2 separate regions of the Homo sapiens genome follow, and region 1 is linked to region 2. The links are contacts of gene promoters, found by promoter capture Hi-C in human tissues and cell types (Jung and others, 2019). All regions are on one chromosome and are shown on one strand. Each heading gives the region's core, a stretch centred on a gene start or on the middle of the fragment in contact. The rest is flanking DNA. Distances are from core to core; before and after follow the strand shown. Region 1 overlaps RERE (arginine-glutamic acid dipeptide repeats). Region 2 holds the start of ERRFI1 (ERBB receptor feedback inhibitor 1).

Region 1 (5,190 bases), core at 1,958-4,457, 570 kb after region 2:
TTTTTATAATAATTTAGCCAGCAATATAGCAAGTGAACTATGAGCAAATACTACAATATAGTCTCAACATTTGAGCCTCTACATATAACATATAGTCTCAACTAATACTAGATGTAAATACAATATATTAATAAATAATAATGTTTAAGACAGTTTGAATAATAATGTCATGGTTAATAGTAACATATTATCCTTTAGCATAAATAAGACTTCTGAGAATCACTGGCAATCAGATGCGCTCTGAACCATTCTTTTGATGGTAAAGAAGGTTGGCAGAGAGCCATCCCCACTCACTTCCAGGAGGCCCTGATGAGCAAAAGCATATTATTAAAAAGCTGCGGGGGCCAGGCACAGTGGCTCACACCTGTTAATCCCAGTGCCTTGGGAGGCCAAGGCAGGAGGATCATTTGAGGCCAGGAGCCTGATACCAGCCTGGGCAACATAGTGAGACTTCATCTCTACAAAACATTACAAAATTAGCCAGGTGTGGTGGCATGTGCTTGTGTGGTCCCAGCTACTCAAAAGGCTGAGGCAGGAGGATCGCTTGAGCCCAGGAGCTTAAGGCTGCAGTGCTCTATGATCACACCACTCATTCCAGCCTAGGTGACAGAGCAAGACCGTGTCCAAAAAAAAAAAAAAAAAGCTGCTGGTTTGGATCTACCATGTTATCTGTGACTGTGGACTAACTTTTCTTTGGGTAAAATTTCTTTGCCTATGTGGGTATCAACCATTTTATTTCATCTGAAAAAAAAAATGCTAAAGCATTTGTCCATATCCATACTTAACTGTTAAATATTAAACAGAAAAGTTATATTTATCATTAAATACCAATAAAAACTTTTCTGTTGTCCTGAATATTTTGTTACAACATTAAAAAAAGTACACACACACAAGAAAAATTCAGACAAACTTTAATGTATTTTATTATTAATGTTTTATTTTTATGTATTATTTTAATGTATTTATTTTTATGTATTTATGTATTTTATGTATTTATTTTAATGTATTATTTTAATTGTATTTTATTATGTACATATTTTCCTGTCATATTTTCCCTTCAGAAACAAACTGCCAAAGAAAAAAGATGAAAAAGCATGTTTAAGCAATATTTAATTGCTCCTAGCATTTAAACATGTTATAAAAATCCTTAAAGATCATTAGTAAAAATGAGTTCTTACAATACCTATCCACTAGTACACTATACAAAAAACAATTAATGGAAGGAGGAGTGGTTAGAGGGATGTATTGGTAGAGATATAGATATATTTTAAAAAAGGATGCATCAACTCAAATAATATAGGAAAGAAGAAATGCAATTCCCACTAACTCTGCAAATGACCCTCAAACCTTACACAGGCACAAGGCTACAATGAAGAAAGCAAGTAAGTTTTGGAGTGACTCCTTCAGGGCACTAATCCCCAAAAGTTTATACCAGCTCAGGCTTCAGCAAACTACAGGCCCACAGGCCATGTCCAGACACCACCTGGACTCTACTGATCCACTAGAAATAAAGTGATTCAGTAAAATAAAGTTTCACTGAAACACGGCTACACAGTCATGCTCATTTGTTTACAAATTGTCTATGGCTAAGTTGAGTAGTTGCCATACAGAAAATAAAACTGAAAAAACTATCTGGCCCCTAATAGGAAAAGCTTGCTGTCCCTGAGTACAAAAATAACCAATAGTAAGAATGTTCAGAATCAGCTGGCTGAGCAGCAGCAAAAAACAGGATAGCTCTCCTCTAGAAACTGGTAGGAGCAAGCTTTCTGCCTCATAAACACTTTGCTGTGTATACACATGTAGTCTTAATTCATGAGACATAAGATTTGTCTTTTAAAAAGCTGACCCAAATACAAACCATCTCCAATCAGTTTCTCAGACACAAGTCAGAATATGACATTAAAATCCAGTGAATTGCACTGATATTTTCTCTTACAGACAAACCTAGTCTGTAGGAAAATAAATTACTCTTTCTCTCTCTCTTTTAATTTAACTAAGGGTCTTGCTCTGTTACCCAGGCTGGGGTATAGTAGTACAATCATAAGCTCACTATAACCTGGACCTCCTATGCTCAAGCAATTCTCTTGTCTGTGGCCTCCCAAGTAGTTGGGACTATAGCCACAAGCTACCATGTCTGGCTTTTTTTTTTTTTTTTCTGGTAGAGACAAGGTCTTGCTAAGTTGCCAGGGCTGGTCTCAAACTCCTGGCCTCAAGTGATCCTCCCATCTCCAACTCCCCAAAGTGCTGGGATTATAGGTGTGAGCTAACACACCTGGCCAGAAAACAATTTTCTCTAATGAATTAACTGAAAAGATTTACCACACAGCGTGTCTATCTTTGGAAACAGCGCTGCCACAAGGTACCTGGTGGTGTTCAAGTACAAATCCCCCTGACCTGCAAGAAATTTCACCTTTAATAATCTTTAAGAAAGGTCAAAAGCATTAACATGACAGATGCCCAGGGCACGAGCCAATAAAAGGAAAAGTTAACTGGGTTATCTCTCTCATATGTAGTTAAAACAGCAAATGCTTAATCATTTAATTTGTACTGATGCTGATTTTTTTTTTTTTTTGAGACAGGGACTTCCTTTGTCACCCAGGCCAGAGCGCAGTGGCGTGATCGTGGCTCACTGCAGCCTCAGCATCCCAGGTTCAACTGATCCCTCTGGCCTCAGCCTCCTAAGCAGCTGGGACTAGAGGTGTGTGCCACCATGCCCAGCTAATTTTTATATTATTTATAGTGACGGGGTTTTGCCATGTTGCCCAGGCTGGTCTCGAACTCCTGAACTCAAGCAATCCACCCGCTGCCTCAGCCTCCCAAAGTGCCAGGATTACAGGTGTGAGCCACTGTGCCCAGCCCCTGATGCTAATTTTTAAATGGACATTTGAATTCTCAAAGAAATTTGTGTTGCCTCTTGTCAAACCAGGTCACTGAAATGATAACCCACACAATAAGCCAATGAGAAGGAAAAAATATATGGGATTGGAAAACAGAATGAAAATCAACATTAAAATTCCATAATTAAAACACGCAGATAGAAAAGAATTTATCTGACAACGTGCTAAGAACCCCCTGTCCTGTGTTTGCTGTCATGGGGAGGGAAGAATGTCTGCAGCACAGGCTTTCCCAGTCTGATTCACAGCCCTGTTATATATGAATGTGCACACTCGAAACAAGATCTGATCTGGACAATAGTCAAGTCTCTAAAAGCAAGGGAGTTCAATTAATTTTTTAAATAAACATTTCACTGGATTTTTTTTTTTTAATGATCAATCCTGTTGACAGTTTTCCCGTCCATCTTCCAGAAGAACTCACTACTCAACCAACTGCCTGGTATTCAGCTGTGACTGTGAGGATGGATAACTATATTTCCTTAAGAAATAGCAGGAAGGTATCTCATCCAAGCAGAAAATAAGACCAACAGTTGTCCAGGTCTCAGTGGTTCTGCATTTCTTCCTAAAAGAGAAATATGTCTCTAAACATCTCTTTCCCGCCTCATGGGGTTGGGGGAAGCAATATGCTCAGAAAAATTTTAACTACTCCAGGCAGCTGAATAAAACAAGCTGAAAACCCTAGATGTGTTCTCCACATTACTGTGACAGAATGCAAGTGTGTATTCGAAAGATTTCCTCGCTGGAATTATAAAGCGTACAGCAAGCCAGCCTGCTGTACTGCCACCTCGCTCTTGCTCCCAGACTCCCTCCCATGGACTAAGCAGGAACGAACATACGAGCTGTGAATCTGGTAGGGGAAACAGGAAACATCCAACCAGGAACACACTGGAGAGAAGAGAAAACAGTTAACCACCTATGAGAAGATGGCGCTGATTCCAGCAGGTGACAGGTGGGACGTGAAGGGCATTCCCGGCCCTCCAGCAGAAGCAACGTCACGGAGCTGGGTGCTGGGTGGGTTGCACCGTTCTGAGGCAGCACGGTTCTCTCCAATGACTCTCACACAGGAACCAGACCTGACTCTGTTTCTTCCAGGACGGTCCTCCCTCACTCCACAGCCTCTCATGGCAGCTGGACACCCACCAGGGCTGGATTCCACACACAGAAACCACATCCAATGCTCTGTTACTAGAAGTCGACCATCTGGATTTCAAAGACCTCTGTCTCTTTCTGTCCTTTGTTAATCAGTCTCCCTTCCCACTCAACCCTCTCCCCTCCATGCCAGAGAAAAGGATTTTTAAATCTGATGAGTTTTTCAGGGAAGCAGAAATGTGAGATTACACTGTTCTTTAGCCTCACCTCATGGTTTTGCTACAGAGATCAACGTCTTCTAACACAGCTTTGCCCATACTCTTCCTGAGGCTGAACCAAAAAATCTTTCATGAACAGTACTGTCTCCACCAGCAGAATGTAAATATACCACAGCACTGACTTCAAAACACTGAAGTAGAGAGTCTTAACTCTCCTTAGACAGAAGGCAGAAGGCTGCAAACATCCCCCAGCAGACTGCAATTGTGCTGTTCCAACTGACAAGCCCAGTAAGCACTGCCCATGACAGGACCTCCTGCAGAACTTCTCCCAGCCTGGCGGACAGCGGGGCAGGGGTCACCCTCAGAGGCTCGCCTTCTCTTTGCTCCCTAGCCATCACACTACACTGGGATGAGACACAACAAGCACCCAAATGACACAGTGACCATTTCTTTTGGTCACTGAGGTTCACGAGATGGGCTGTTTTTCTTTTTCAATCGAGGAGCTGAAATCCTACCAGCCACCTAACAATTAACAACCCCAACCCTGTCCACGGTTAAAATCAACGAAAAAAGCAAGGCCAACTTCTTGTATAACTTCCTTCATACGGGAAAAACATCAAGTTCAACGTGTGTTAATCAAGTGTCAGGTCAATGTACCACGCAAATATATTTGATGTTTTTTGCTAAGGCCAATACTAAACTGTTAAACACAGAGAATATGAGGAAAAACAAGGTTAAAAAAAGTGTATAGATGTCCAACCCTCTTTTAATAATTCCAAAAAAACACAAAGCTACTTAGGCAAAAATAAATCACAAATCTATTCAGGAGCACTGTAAAACGGAAGAGAATTATCTAAAGGGATTCACCGGCTACTGACTAATTTTAATATGAAATGCCTCACAAATCTCCCTGTGCCACCAACAAATCACCAGCTGAGGCAAATCCCAGATAATGAAACATTGTAAGAAGGGCTCTTTTTAATAGTTTA
Region 2 (4,631 bases), core at 1,151-3,650:
GTATAGCCAGACACCCGCAAAGGATGCTAAATGTATCCAAATGGATCCAGATGATGAGGTACCAATTCAAATTTATTTAGATCAAGAGCAGAGTTGTTTCTCTGGCAGAGGGAGCCTATGCCATTCCAATTCCTGGAGTTACCCCTGACACCTCCTTTCCTTCCTCTGCTCCTTTCTAAAGCAATCTGATGGTATGCAGACAATCAGGTCAGTTTCAAGCATGTTAGATTGTGCCTGTAATTTACGCAAATTGCTTTGAAAAGCCACCATTAGTTTCAGCAGAAAGGAAGTATTATCTAGCTCAACTTTTGAGAAGCAGCAGTCAAGAGGTATTTTCACACAAAAACTCAAGCATAATTAAATCTTATAAAGAGTGACCAGTATATATTGTGAACTGCAAGTAGGAAAACCGATGATTGAAACAACAGTTTTACCCGTCAAAAATATCAATAATTCAGGCATTTCATAACAGCCATAAAAAAATTAAACAGATTTGCTTTCCAACCCTTATCAATGACTGCTCCAATCCTGCTGAGCCTTAAAAGGTAAAACATGCTTTCATGCAATTATTTATCAACATCAACTATGTGCAAGGCTGCATAAGATAGAAGCTATACAAGGCAGAGTGCCTACCCTTAAGGAGTTTACAATCTAATATATCTGTCAGGTTATAAATCGTTAGTCTAAGACCTCTATCACTTATTATCGAGTGTCCCCTGGAACACACAGGTGAAAATAAACTTCTGCTTGAAGCAAAGGGAATGACAAATAGTTTCTGAAGTCCATGCTAAATCCTTTGTTATTTTTCTTCAAACTTGCTAATATCTGGAAAAGAACTTGCTTGATAACATATTGGTAACCAATTATAGCCAGCATGTTAGCAAGAAACCAGCTTCTTTTATTTTGGTCTTTGCAAAATTTGATCATTTGCTGATACCTAGCCTGTCTTTGGTCTCTGTTCAAATAAAATTTCACTTAAAACTGTATATTGTAATTACAGAAATATAAGAAAAGAAATGCAGTTAAAAAAATAGGTACGGTGAACTTGGGATGTTCAGTCTCAACAAATGTGTGTACCCACTGCATTCTTACACATTTATAAAAGGTTGAACATTTGTTCTGGAAGGGAAAAAAAGGGCATTTTAACCTCACCTTTCTTCACCCCTGACAGTTGCCTAGAAACCAGTCTTGCCCTACCTGTGTTGCAGGTGTACCTCAAGTCACCGACACATCTCTTTTAAAGCTACAGTCTCCATTCTGACTTAAGTTTATGACTAACCATCTATTCATATTTTTATCAGGTAAGAGACTGGTTTCTTTCAAGCAATGATGAAATCCTAATAAAGACTTAGCAAGCACTAATACAGCACCATTCACGGTTAAAGAGTCATCTAATTTGTACAGGGCTATGATATACATATAAATACACACACAAAATTCCCAATAAGCATTCACGTCTTGAACACATAATTTTGCAGTCCGATTCCATTCAAAGCCGTACTTAAGACACTCAGAGCAAAGAATCACGTTTCTAGGAGAGAAGGAAGAGTTCAGAACAGCTTAGACGAATTTTTAAATACTGATTTCGGCATTACCATCGTCGCTGTGAGATTAGGCAGAGGGAGCGGGGCTGACCGCCAGAGAACCGGTACCAACCACCGCAAGCAATCGCCGAGCCTCCCACCCCAGCTTTCAAGACAGGATTTACGGGTACACGGTGTGAACAAGACAACGCAACCCCCTTTTTACAAATAAAAAAAAAATCAAACAAGCCCCCAGGCCCGAAGACGCTCATCCCCGCCGGGCAACCCCGCGAGCGCAGGCTGCGGGACGAGGACCTTCATGCTCGCCGCTCCCGAACCCCCGTCCGCTCCTGCGGTCCCGGTGCTGCGGGGACGTATCCCGGGCGCTCGGGTGCATGGCCCCGGCCAGCCGAGGGGCCGCGCGACGACCACAGCCGGCGTGGAGAAGGCGGCGGGCGCCGGCACTTCGCGGCGTCCCCAGGCCCGGGCTGCGCCGCCGGGGAGGGTCCCGCTCTCCACACCTCAATGGGGAGAAGCCCGCGAGCGACCGGCCGGCCTCTCCCTCCATCCCAGAGACTCCGCGTCGCGGCGACCCTCCCCGCGCCCTCCACGCCCCCGCCCTCGCGTCGGGGAGCCGCCTGGATCCCGGCGCCCGGCGCGGGGCCCCCTGAGGGAACGGAGCGCTGCGTGGCCCTCCCCACCCCCTCAGCGCGCCAGGCCCCTTACCCCGGAGGAGCGGCGGCTGCCCCGCGGCGCCCTCCCGCGCATGTCCGTCCCGGCTGGCTCAGCGCCGCGGGCTCAGGGGCCCGGACATCGCGCAGGCGCCTCTTGCTGGCTCGCGCTCCCGCTAGCACTCTGCCTCGCACCGGACCGCCGTCGCCGCGGCTGCCGCCGCCGCCTCTATATATAGCATAGGCCGCCGGGCCGTGAGGTCGCCGCGTCCCGCCCCGCCTCCTCCCGCAGCCAATCAGGGCGCGCGCCGCTTAAAGGGGCGATGCCGTGGCCGAGGCGTTGCGCCGGGCCCACCGTGGCGTATCGCGGCGCTGCAGGGAGCCGGCTTTGTCTCCCGGAGAGGCGTCTCCGGGCTGACCGCGGCCGCAGCTCCGCTCCTCTGCCTGAGCCGTGCGGCAGCCCTGGGAGCCTCTCAACGCCGAGCTTTCCTCAGAAGCCCGCGGCGACCCGGGCCTCGGCCGCTGTTCCTGCCCGAACTGAGGGCACATCGCGCTTCGCGCGGGATTTCCCATAAATTCAGGCTCCGGGCAAGATTGTGTGTTTTTTCCTCTCCGCGGGCCGCCGCTGGCCGTGTGGGCCGAAGAAGCCCTGGAGGGGGAGAGGGGAGCCGCTCTCGACTGGGCTTGCGGCGTGGGAGGGACAGTGAGGGACACTTAGGGACTGTGTGGGGCAGTGAAGGATAGTGTGGGATGATGAGGGACCGTGTGGACCGGTGAGCGACTGTGTGGGACAGTGCGGGACGATGAGAGACGGTGTGGGACGGTGAGGGACAGTGCGGGACGATGAGGGACAGTGAGGGACTGTGTAGGACAGTGAGGGACAGTGTGGGACGGTGAGGGACTGTGGGACAGTGAGGGACTTTGGGACTGTGAGGGACTCGGACAGTGAAGGATGGCAAGGGACAGTGTGGGACAGTATGGGACAGTGGACAGTGAGGCACTGTGAGGGGCGGTGAGGGACAATGAAGGATGTCAAGGGACAGTGTGGGACAGTGGACGGTGAGGTACTGTGAGGGGCGGTGAGGGACAGTGTGGGACTGTGAGGGATGGCGAGGGACAGAGTAGGACAGCAAGGGAGGATGAGGGGACAGAGTGGGCCGGCGTGGGGCGGTGAGGCTACGCGGGGGGAACCCAGGGCTCCTCTGACTGCGTTGGAATATGGAGGAAAGGTCCTGCTCGAGGTTGAGCCCTTCAGGGTCGCTGTGGGTTTCCAGGAGGAGCTCCCTCACTACTGACTTAGGGGGCCCTCGGCTTCCCAGGTTTGTGTTTACTCAGGCGACCTGAGCTGGCCCCGACGTCTTTTGGCTTTGGAGAGGCCACGGATGCCCAAGGACAAAGCCCCAGCGGGCCTGTGGGAGGAGGTTTCTCGGGGCGCCAGTGATGCAACTTAGGCTTATAGTTTAACCGTAAAATAAATAATACAAATGATAACAAACCAAGAGTGACTAAAGTCAGAAAAAAAGCAAACAGACGGAAACCCTCTAGTTTTAACTAGAACAAATTCCCTGGCTGGTCCTCTGTTGGGAGAGCCCAGAGACCTGTCGCTGACCTCTAGCCTCCTGGAGCCCCTGCTTGCACTTCAGCAATAATGCCTGATAGTTAGACACTGATCACTAGCTAATTGGGGTAGTTTAACATATGGAATGAGATTCTGGCCTTATTATCAGGTTAACTATTAACTCTACACCCCATGAAATGATTTGCCTTTCCCCCACTATTATTTACTTACATTCTTTTTAATTTAATTCAAAGGCCTAATTTTGAATTCAAGGCCTTAAGCACGAAAAGGAAAAAAAAAAGAAAAAGAATCTGAAGTATCTTTGCCCTCTCTCACTTGCAAAACAAACGAACGTTTTGCAGAGAGAAATCTGGCTTCCTTTCTGATGGCTCTTCTGGCTTACAAGGGGCTGTTGGGTCATTTTCATGCCTATGCCATTTGTCAACAATTCAGTTAACCTATCTTCTTACAGCCATTCATTTAGTATTATTTTAGGATGATGGAAATGAGTCACAACTAATTGCAGAGTTCCTTACCAACTAACTAGGTTTTTTGATCCAAAGAAAATCTGTCCCGATTTTCCTCCCATTTTGGCGTCATTTATGTTTGTGGCTTACCCATATGCTGTTATCAGTGTAAAAAAAAGATGAGTGTGAGAACTTGCCAGGGTACATCTTTTCAAACCTCACGGGACAGGATTTACTGAATGGGCACCTAAAGGAGCTCAAGTTTCATCTGAAAGGAGCCCTGGCTATACTATTTCAAGTCACTACAATACAGTTGTAATTTGTGCTTCGGCCTTATTGGCGTGCTTTTACATTCCCCTATTCATAAAACAGTGATAATCACCAGAGCAACCATCAAACACACCCCTTCTTT

Evidence for each region. Contacts are between HindIII fragments. The study calls those that stand out against the background at their distance.
Region 1: a contact is called between a fragment that was not itself captured here and the fragment with the promoter of ERRFI1 in region 2, in 1 of the 25 tissues and cell types used here (stomach).

What each region holds. Positions count from the first base shown.
Region 1 is chr1:8,594,534-8,599,723 of GRCh38, forward strand. The region is part of intron 4 of RERE (arginine-glutamic acid dipeptide repeats); the gene reads right to left. Among named protein-coding and RNA genes, the nearest start is that of SNORD128, 100 kb to the left of the region's middle. RefSeq lists an enhancer at 3,899-4,398. The HindIII fragment of the contact is 8,255 bases long and covers 1-5,190 here.
Region 2 is chr1:8,023,909-8,028,539 of GRCh38, forward strand. ERRFI1 (ERBB receptor feedback inhibitor 1) reads right to left here and starts at 2,401. Exons shown (of 4, transcript NM_018948.4): 1 at 2,250-2,401. It overlaps ERRFI1-DT (ERRFI1 divergent transcript), which reads left to right and starts at 2,585. Exons shown (of 3, transcript NR_185980.1): 1 at 2,585-3,513. RefSeq lists silencers at 2,217-2,316, 2,437-2,486. The HindIII fragment of the contact is 15,275 bases long and covers 1-4,631 here.